Linked DNA regions of Homo sapiens: region 2 is linked to region 1. Evidence: promoter capture Hi-C in human tissues and cell types (Jung and others, 2019). All regions are on one chromosome and are shown on one strand. Each heading gives the region's core, a stretch centred on a gene start or on the middle of the fragment in contact. The rest is flanking DNA. Distances are from core to core; before and after follow the strand shown.

Region 1 (5,093 bases), core at 1,499-3,998:
GGACCAGAGCTCACAGGGCCAGATTGGCTCTATGAATAAGGCATATCTCCCTCGGTTTCAGCTTCTTTCTTCTTCCATCTGTCTCTCTTATTATTATCTTTTTTTCTCTCCCTCTCTTTTCTACTCCTGTCCAGCCCAGGCCTACCCTCACCCTCTTTCCCCATCACCCCTACCCTGTTCTGCCACATACTATCTGTGTGACCTTGGGCAAGTGACCAAACCTCTCTGTGCCTCTATTTCCCTTATCCATAAAATGGGGATGGTAATAGGACCTCTTCATTTGGCTGTTGTGTAGATTGAATGAAGTGATAGATGTGAAACCCTTAGAATCATTTCTGGCACATAAATAGTGCTGTATATGTGTTCACTTGTGTTGTTGTTGTTATTCCTACCCCCAAGCTCCAGCAGGGAGCACTAGCAACCACGGTGGGAGGTGGGGATGCTGCCTGGGTGGTGGCGATGAAGGGTGGAGTCTGGAGAATAGGGGGATTGTGAGTGTCCCCAGGGACATCTCAGAGTTGCGCTTGGGGTTAAGGTTCACCAGAAGGAGTTATCTGCAGAGCTGAGCTTGATCTGGGGGATAGGGCGGGCTTCATGTAAATAATTTAGGCCAGGCACAGTAGCTCATGACCACCGTGGTCAGGAGTTCAAGACCAGCCTGGGCAACATAGTGAGACTCCATTTATAAAAAAACTAAAACAAAACCAAAAACAAAACAGCTACTGAGGAGGCTGAGATGGGAGGAACACTTGAGCCCAGGAGGTCCAGGCTGCAGTGAGCTGTGATCACACCAGTGCACTCCTGCCTGGGTGATGGAGTGAGACTCTGACTCAAAAACAAACAAATAAAAAAAAAGAAAGAAAGAAAAATTAGACTGGGTGCGGTGGCTCATGCCTGTAATCCCAGCACTTTGGGAGGCTGAGGCGGGCGGATCACTTGAGGCCAAGAGTTCGAGACCAGCCTGGCCAACATGACAAAACCCTGTCTCCACTAAAAATACAAAAAGTAGCCAGGCATGGTGGGACATGCCTGTAGTCCCAGCTACTCGGAAGGCTGAGGCAGGAGAATTGCTTGAACCCGGGAAGCAGAGGTTGCGGTGAGCGGAGACCATGCCAGTGCACTCCAGCCTGGGCAACAGAGCAAGACTCTGTCTCAAAAAAAAAAAAAAAAAGAAAAGAAAAAAGAAAAAGAAAAGAAAAATTAGCCGGGCGTGGTGGCGCACACCTGTAATCCCAGCTACTAGGGAGGCTGAGGCAGGAGAATTGCTTGAACCTGGGAGGTGGAGGTTGCAGTGAGCCGAGATCGTGCCACTCTACTCCAGCCTGGGTGACAGAGTGAGACTTTGTCTAAAAAAAAAAAAAAATTAGGAAAGGGGTTTAGAGGAGGACCTCTGTACAGTGGGATCCAAAACGAGAAGGGTTTGAGACCCCAGGAATCTGGGGCACTGCATGAAACAACACAGATTTTTAGGGGAGAAGTTGCTGGGTTTAGGGACCCTGTGAATATCTCAGAAAGAGAAGGAGAGTGGCCTGAGATACTCAGTGGGGTTTGAGGGAAGGGGTGGGGTTCAGCTATGGGACAGGGGATGGGCAAAGGGGTCTGAACTAGGAAGGAGCAAGGCATTCTGGGCTCTATGGAAGTCACAGGGAGGGGGGACTTTCAGGGTCCAAGAGAAAGAACTGGAGCAAGAAGGAGGCAGGGTCCTCAAGGGGGCAGGACTAGTAGGGGGTGGGAAAAAATTGGGGCTAATTGGGGAGTTTTGGAAACCAAAGGATGTCTTGGAGGAGAAGGAGAGAGAAAGGTGTAAGGTCAAAGGGGTGGAAGATGGTTTGGGGTCTAATGGGGTTCATGGGGAAAGTTTAAGGGTCTTCCATAGGGATAAGAGACATTTTAGGGCCCCCTAGAAGTTAGGCATGGTTTGGAGTTCATACTGGGGGTAAGGGAATGGGTTAGGGTCCTTGAGGGTAGAAGGACATGGCTGGGGGTCCCCAAGAAGGAGTGGAATATGATTTGTGGTTCTGGTGGCTGTAGAATGTGGTTTGGGTCCCCAAAGGGAGTCAGGCACCATCTGGGATTTGGCTGACATATGGTCTGAAGTCTCCCCCGATGTTAGGGTATGATTTGGGGTCCGTGAGGGAAGGGGTGTGGTCTGGGGGTCTATCTGAATGTTGGGATATGATTTAGGGTTGCTGGTGGGGTGGTCTGGATCCCCTTGGATGCTGGGATATGATCTGGGATTCTTCTGGGTTTGGGGGCATGGTCTGGGGTTCCTGACAGTGTGTGGGTCATAGTCTGAGGTCAAGCAGGAGAGCAGGGCATGATTTGTGGTCCTGGGTGGCCCTAGAACATCGCCTGGGTTCTCAAAAGAGGTGAGGCCTGATCCGAGGTCCCCCTGGGTATTAGGACGTGATGGGAGGTCTCTGTAGGGAGATCCGGGGTCCCTAGGCCAGTTGGGGCGTGGTCTGGGGGGGTCTCCGGGGAGGCCGGCGGGGCTGGGGGTGGGGCTGGGGAAGGGTCGGGGGCGGGCCCGCGGCGGCTCGGCAGTGGAGAGGGGTCTGCGGCGGGTTCGGGGCGGGGATCCCGGGTGTGCGACCGCCCCGCCCGGCCGCCCCCACCAGTCGGCGCCCCCTCCCCCCTTGCGGCGGCGGTGGCGGCGGGCGGCGCGGAGGGCGGAGCTCGGCTGCGGCTCGGGAGGGAGGGCGGGAGGCGGGAGGGAGGCGGCCCCGCGGCACCGCGCCCCCTCCCCCGGCCCTCCCCCCACCATGGCGCGGAGCGAGGCAGCGGCGGCGGGGCCGGGCCCGGGGCCCCCCCGGGCTGGGTGAGCGCGGCCTGCAGCGGCCCGGGAGCGGCGGGCGGGGGCGCGGGTGTGTGCGCGGGTGTGAGCGTGCGAGCGTGCGAGTGTGTGTCCGTGGCGCTGCGGCGGGCCCGGCGTGCGCCCGCGCGGCCCTATGTGTGCCCGGTGCCGGCGTGTGCGGCGCCCTGCCCGTGTGGCCATCGGGTGTGCGCGGGGTGTCGAGCCCGGCCGGCGTGTCCGGCTGTGCACGCGTGTCCCCCCGAGCGGCCGCCCCTCCGGCTGTGTGTCTGGGCGCTGTCGCGCGCCCATCGGAGGGGCTGTGTGCAGGTGTGTGTGTGCGTGGGTTGTGTGCCCAGGTGTGGGTCCCCCCCAAGCCCATGTGCGTGCGCGACTAGCTGCTCTGGGTGTTTGTGTCCGGGTTGGATGTCCATCCCCGGGTCTGTGGAGCCGGGTGTGCCCGCTCGGGTGTCCATTTGTGTGTGTGTGTGTGTGTGTGTGTGTGTGTGTGTGTCTGCGGGTTGTATGTCTCCGAGGGTGTGTATCTGTGAGTCCACGGCAGGTTGCTGGCTTGGGGGCTGAGGCTCGGCGCCCAGGCCTCGGTGTGGATTTGGGGGAGGGGAGTTCGCCGCTCCCTCGGTCCATGTCAACTGGGGGGTCCTTAGCGGTCCTGGGGGAAGCGGCCATGTCTTCCCCTTCCCGGTGGTTGCGGGGGGGGGATGGGCGGCCAGGAGGTGGACAGATGGAGGGGGGATGAGAGGCCGAGAAATGGACAGATGGGCCCTGAGGTGGGGGTTGGGGGGCGAAGACCCGGCCCTTCCCCACCCACTCCACCCTAATTCCCCCACCGGCCAGACATCTGCAGACGGAGCCAGAGTTACCTCCATCCTGATGGCCAGGCTGGGGAACCTTTGGGGCTGCTGGTGGGAGGATCTCCTTGAAACGGTGATCTAGGACTCAAACCCCCAAATCCTCTTGAGTTTCCACCTGCTGAACTCTGACCTCTGGCCTGGCTTTTGCCCTGGTTTTTTGGGGGTGTGGAGGGCAGGATGCTGAATGTGCTGCAGGGATGTTAGGATTTCTTGGGCCTGGGAAGTAAGTAGGTGGGGTGGTGGGGGGGTGCCTCAGGGCTGGGAGGAATGTGTGTCCAAGACTGTGTGAGTGTGAATCTGGGCCTGTCTACTGACTGTGCTACTGTGGTTCAGTATTTTCTATGCATTTGGAAGTGTGTAAATCACAGGACTGTTGTGTGAGCATGTGTCTGTTATGAGTGAACATCTTGGCGTGTCTGCAAAGGTGGATCTTTTTGTGCCTGTGTGCGTGTTCCAGTGTGGATCAGCCTCGTATCTGTATGCTTGTGGTTTTGTGTGTGTGTGTGTGTGTGTGAGGTATGTATCTGTTAGCGTGGTGCTGTATCAACTTTGCAACATGGAGATGTGTGAAGTATGAGTGTGTCTAGGCATTTAAGAGTGTGCACTTGTGTATGTTTGCACAGGTGTGTGTGTGTTTGTTAGATGTGTGTGCCCCTGTGTGCTGGTGAGTGTGCAAGGTAGATCTGTTGTAAATGCATGTACCTGGTTGTCTGTTAGGGGGCACATGAGTTTCTCTGTTGTATCTGTGCATTTGTGTGTGTGAACTTGCATGGCAGAGTCAGTGTTGTACATGTATTGTTGCATGCAGGTGTGTCAACCTTGAGGGTATGTATCCATCTATGTTGTGAGTCTGTTTGTGTTTTGGTGTTGGTCTCTGGGGGTTGTGTATGTTCAGACATGTATGTGAAAGACACATGTGTCTGTGCCCTGGCACAAGGCTGTCCCTACTCTTGGGTTCAGTGGGTTTGAGGCCCATGTGGCATGACCTCTGGTATACTGGGGTCCCGCCTGGGGTCCCTGGACACAGTGTGTCCATATGCCAGGCCAAGTGCCCATAGAGGGCGGAGGGCACACAGATCATGTTGCTATGTTCATAGAAATCCAGATGTAGAGACTTGGGTTGTGGGCTTGCGTGGGTTCTGACATGGACACACATGTTGGTGTGGGCAATAGTATCATGGCAAGGATGGGAAACTTTGGCCCTTCCCCAGCTCTTGGTACCGTTCAGGACTTTGGAGTTGAGGGGCTGGGATGTAAACTCTTGGGTTCTAATGGAGGGCCAGAGGTCTGGTCTGGACTCTTGGGTCAGAGGGAAGAGGGGGCTGGGGTTCTTGGCTCCTGAAACCCCAGAGGACAAAGGGCTAAAGTCCTCGACTCCTGGGCTTTGGAGGGTGAACAACCCTGAGGCCTAATCTAGGATTCCAGAGAGG
Region 2 (5,093 bases), core at 1,099-3,598, 530 kb before region 1:
CAAGGGCTTCGCTATCCCTGCCCTGCCCTGCCTGCCAGTGTCTCCTCCATCCCCCTCCCACCTCTCTGCCTGGGCCTCCCCTATCCTGGCCCTGAGCCCCCTGCCTGGGGCTCCCCAGTCCCATTTCTGCCGGTGCTTCCCCCATTGCCCTCCTACCCCTCTGCCTGTCCCAGCCCTGACCCCTCTGGGCCAACACTGTTTGGGAACCTGTCTGTCTCTCCTATTGGACTGGCAGCTCCAGGAGGACAGGACCCGGGGCTGTTTTAGCCACCATTGTGTCCCCAGCACAAGACCAACAGGCACCTCCACCACTAATTACTTACCGATAGAGCCAATTTCAGGTCTTCAGAGCAAGCTAGCAGGCAAAGTATCTCAGAAGCAGGAGATGGTGCCAGGATTCCAAGAAATAGGGCTGGAATCCCCTAAATCTGCACTGCACTCTGAGTACTTTTGTCCTTTAGAAGAAAAATATTAATTAGAAGGCAAATAGTAAAATCCATGTGAAATAGGTAACATTATCCGGAATTGGACCCACTGGAATCATTGCACATCTAGAAATCCAGAATAGACTCAACTATTTCATCTCATAGTTTTTAAAAAGTTTTTTTTGTTTGGTTTTTGTTTTTGTTTTGGGACAGGGGTGTCGCTCTGTGACCCAGGCTGGAGTGTAGTGGTGCAGTCATGGCTCATTTCAGCCTAGACCTACTGGGCTCAAAGGATCCTCCTGCCTCAGCCTCTTGAGTAGCTGGGACTACAGGTGCAAGCAACCATACCCAGCTAATTTTTTATTTTTTGTAAAGATAAGGTCTCACTCTGTAGCCCAGGCTGGCCTTAAGCTCCTGGGCTCAAGCGATCCTCCTGCCTCGGCCTCCCAAAGTGCCTGGATTACAGGTGTGAGCCACTGCCCCGACCGGTTCTGAAAAGTTTAAGCAGATTTTCCATCATAATATCTAAACAATCTTTCAGGAATGTTTCTGTGCAAATTGGTGGCATTCCACAGCTGGAACACTGTACACAGAGAACTCACAACGGTATGAGGCCATCCATTCATTCAACAAACATTTACTGGGCACCCAGAGGGCTGTCCTAGGCCTAGAGTGATAGAGCAGTGAATGGAACAGAGTCAACATCTAGGCTCTGGACTGGTAGGTTCTTCTGGAGTTTTTCGGTAACTTCTCATAACAGCAGTTGTCTTGCTTTGCAGAATGAATATAGGGATGGATACTGATATTACACAATTACAAAGCCCAAAATTCTTAATACTTAAGCAGAATCTGTTGACCCCTGACGCCGCTCTCTGCCCCCACTCTGATCTGTCCATCCTTTTCTTCTGATTCACGGCAGCAGCCAGTCCTTGGTTTTCCTGCTTTCACCCTCACTCCTGCAGTCTGCTTCCCACATGCAGCCAGAGGGACCTGTGTCAGATCACATTCCTTCTCTGCTTGGAACCCTTCCATGGTTCCATCTTACTGCCTAAGTCCTCACTATGTCCCACAAAGCTCCGCACAATCTGCCCTTGTTAGCTACCCGCCCTTATCTCCTCTTACTCTCCACCTTGCTCACTTTGCCCCACCCACCCTCCTCATTGTCTCTCCAACTTCCCATATCTTTCCTTCCTCAGGGCCTCTGCATCTGCAGATCTTTTCCCTGCCTGGAACTCTCTTCCCCTAGATAGGTGCATGCCTCACTCCTCACTTCCTTCAGCCCTTTAGCTCAAAAGTCTCCTGATGCATTCCTTGACCACCGTGCCAAAAAAACAAAAATCATTTGCCCTCCAAAATCTCTATCCCCTTTCCCTGCTGTTATTTTCTCCAAAGCACTTATCGCTTTCAAACATTCAACATGTTTGGTGTCTATTTCCTCCATTAAAAAGATGAACTCCAGGAGAGTGGAGATTTTTATGTCTCGTACACCGCTGTATTCCCAGCTCCTAGAACAGCACCTGGTACACACGAGGTGCACTGTAAATGTTTTTCGGATGTTTGAATGGAAGCCCAGAGTCGGTCACTGTTCTTGGGGCTGGAAATGTATTGGGGAAGCCTTTTTGGGTGTACAGGGGCCAGAGGGATTTAGCTAGGAATACAAAAGAGGGCACAGCCCGTGCGAAGGCTATGAGCCCTGATTATTGGGGTGCTCGCATTGGGGAAGAGGAAACCGGAAGCGAGTTTAGGGCGACCGCTGCACAGGCAAAGGCTGGGAAGGCAGAGAGCGAGGGCAGCGGGTTGCGTGTCGACAGGCTCGAGAATCCAGGCTCACTGCGCGTGCGCCGAGCTCCGGGCGGGGAAGGGGCCCGGGGGCGGGACTACGGGGTGGCGTCACGCAGCGCACGTCGCCGCGCGCCTGCGCTCTTTTCCACGTGCGAAAGCCCCGGACTCGTGGAGTTGTGAACGCCGCGGACTCCGGAGCCGCACAAACCAGGGCTCGCCATGAAGCCAGGTCAGGCTGGGGTGAGGGTCCGGGGTCAGGGACGGAGGCCGGGCGGGAATCCGGGTGCCAGGCCAGAATCGGAGGGGTGGGGCCTTGGCCTGGGGGCAGGGGTTCTGAGCACGGGTTCCAGTCTCCTGTGGGAAGGGGGATTCTGATTCCAGCAGGTCTAGGGGTTTGTGACTGGCTTCAGAGGTCACGGTCGTGAGTCGAAGAAGGCCGTGGGCCTGGCATTGGGGGTGTTGACGTGGGGTTCGTCTCATTGAGGCCGTCTAATAGGGATTTTGGATATTGGGCAGGAGGCGGCACTCAAGGGTCTTGGGCTAGAGTTTGGATTCAGGCATCTGGAGTCTTGGATCGCTGGGCGTGTTTTGGGAATCAGGCTTGGGTCGGAGATGGAGAGTTCCTGACCTTGGGTCCTGGAGCTGTGTGTGGGAAGCCCCCATTTGCCTTCCCTGTCGCTGCCACCACCACCATCCCCTTATCCCGCATCCCAGCTTTTCCGAGTGGGCCGGAGTGGATGAGGACTCCCCGGTTGGCCGTGTGCGGCGCTCTTCGGCTCACTTTCCCGCCTTCTGCACTTACAGTGGGGCGGATCCCCGGGGATGGAGTGGAGATTTGGGGATTAAGATTTCCACCTCCGGGACGAGACTTAACAAGCTCGGCATTAGTCTGGGGTGGTGGGGCGGGTGGTTGTCACAGGAGGTAAGTAGTTTTATTCTTAAGATTTTCCACTAGATTCTGCTGAAACCACTCCCTTCATGGTGGAATGATGAGGGGGTCCTGGCTTTGACAGCAGAAGGGCCTCAGTTCAGTGTGTCAGCTCTTGCTCAGCTTCTTAGCCTGCTGTGTGAACTTGGGCAAGTGGCTTTACCTCTCTGAGCCTCTGTTTTCTCATCAATAAAATGGCGCCAGTTAGGATTAAGCGACGTTAAAAAAAATAGCACAGTGCTTGACATATAATAGTATTAGCTCTAATTGTTACCTTTATCTTTCTCAAAGAGAACAACATTAGAATCCTTCTCGGTGGTGCCTGAGCACTTCCTCCATCTGGCCTGCCCAACCCGCACTCATCTGTGTGAGAACTTGCTTCATTGAGTTTGGAGAATTTCCACCATGGCCCAAAGGGTCTGTTTTCCTAGTACAGGCTTTCTTTTTCTTTTGTGTGTGTGTTTGTGTGGAGAGATGGGGGTCACCTGGCAGGAGATTTGTGGATCTGTGCCCTTCTCCCAAGTTCCCTTTCTCTTCCGTGTTTGGGGATCTCTTGATGAAGTGGGGTGGGGGATTGTAGGCCAGGTATGCTGAGATCCTGGCTTGCCTGCAGGCATTCTGGTCTGTGATTCCCTCATAAATGGAGGATACCCGTTCTTCCAACCTTCCTCCATGTGTGGTAGAATGTGAAGTTGTAAAAGTTGTCAGGTGTTAGCTCTTTAGTAAGGATTTTAGCCTGAGTGAGAAAAGAACCCTTTGGGAGATTTTTGAGCAGGGGCGTGGTGCAGTCTGACATTTTTAAAAGGGATTCTTTTTGCTTCGATGTGTGAAAGACCTCAGGGTGGCAAAAGTGGAAGCAGGCACATTGGTGGGAAGCTTGTTGCTGTAATCTAGGAGATGGTGTGGTGGACCAGGATGGGAGCAGTGGACATGCTGACAGTTTTACATGCTTTTGAAGACAGAACCAACAGATTGTATGTGGGTGTGTGATCGGAGTCAAGGATAACCAAGGGTTTGGGGGTGTGTAACTGGAAGGATGGAATTGCCATTTTTGAGATGGAGAAGGCTGTGGAAGGAGAGCAGATTTTAAATCAGGGGGTTTATGGACCCCCCTCCCCCCAAAAAAAGAACTTACTGGAAAAGTTTGTGTGAACATGTGTTTTTTCTGAGGACTGGGTACTTTTGGTACATTTTCCCCCAAAAGCTCCAGGACCTGAAACGGATTGAGATGTTTTGAGTATCTGGGATTGAAAGTTTACACTCATGCCCACTCCGCCCCAAGCACATGCCAGTACTTCCTTTCTGTTAGGCCTGGGTTGAGACTTTCATAAGCCTAGCTGTGGCATCTCCCCTAAATGAAGGTCTTGGCTTTGGAAAACTGTTGGAGGGCTTGGGCAAGAAAATTGAGATCTGAGTTGCTGTTTCAAAAACAGCACTTATTAGTTGCTGTGTGGAAAGTGGACTGTAGGGGGAGTAGAACATTAAAAAGTGAACAACTCTTAGTTATGTTCTAGAGTTTTGAAAAGGAAACTTCATTTTAAAAGATCAAATTAGGAGTAGCTATTAAAAGTTACATTTTCATCTTTAATAGAAAGATGAAAAAAGAACTAACTGGAAAAGTTTGTGTGAACATGTGTTTTTTCTGAGGAATGGGTACTTTTGGTACATGAGGAGGGAAGAGGAGACGCGTACCCCTGAGTTTGAATGATGATGTTCAAAGTAGGTGCCAGATAGTATATATGTGATGTGCTCTGTGGGTACAAGTCATTTAATCTTTACAACCCTATAGGATGAGCACTGCATTTTTTTTATTTTTATTTTTTTGATACAGAATCTCTCTCTGTCACCCAGGCTGGAGTGCAGTGGCACCATCTCAGCTCACTGCAACCTCCGCCTGTGTTCAATTGATGCTTGTGCCTCAGCCTTTTGAGTAGCTGGGATTACAGGCATGCGCCACC

Evidence for each region. The method cuts DNA at HindIII sites, captures the fragments that hold promoters and counts their contacts. A contact is called where the count stands out against the background at its distance.
Region 2: the fragment with the promoter of FBL here is called in contact with the fragment with the promoter of LRFN1 in region 1 in 1 of the 25 tissues and cell types used here (stomach).

What each region holds. Positions count from the first base shown.
Region 1 is chr19:39,318,518-39,323,610 of GRCh38, reverse strand. LRFN1 (leucine rich repeat and fibronectin type III domain containing 1) reads left to right here and starts at 2,748. Exons shown (of 5, transcript NM_020862.2): 1 at 2,748-2,818. RefSeq lists a silencer at 2,900-3,159. The HindIII fragment of the contact is 12,533 bases long and covers 1-5,093 here.
Region 2 is chr19:39,843,634-39,848,726 of GRCh38, reverse strand. FBL (fibrillarin) reads left to right here and starts at 2,348. Exons shown (of 9, transcript NM_001436.4): 1 at 2,348-2,436. The coding sequence starts at 2,427. RefSeq lists an enhancer at 2,803-3,543. The HindIII fragment of the contact is 10,030 bases long and covers 1-5,093 here.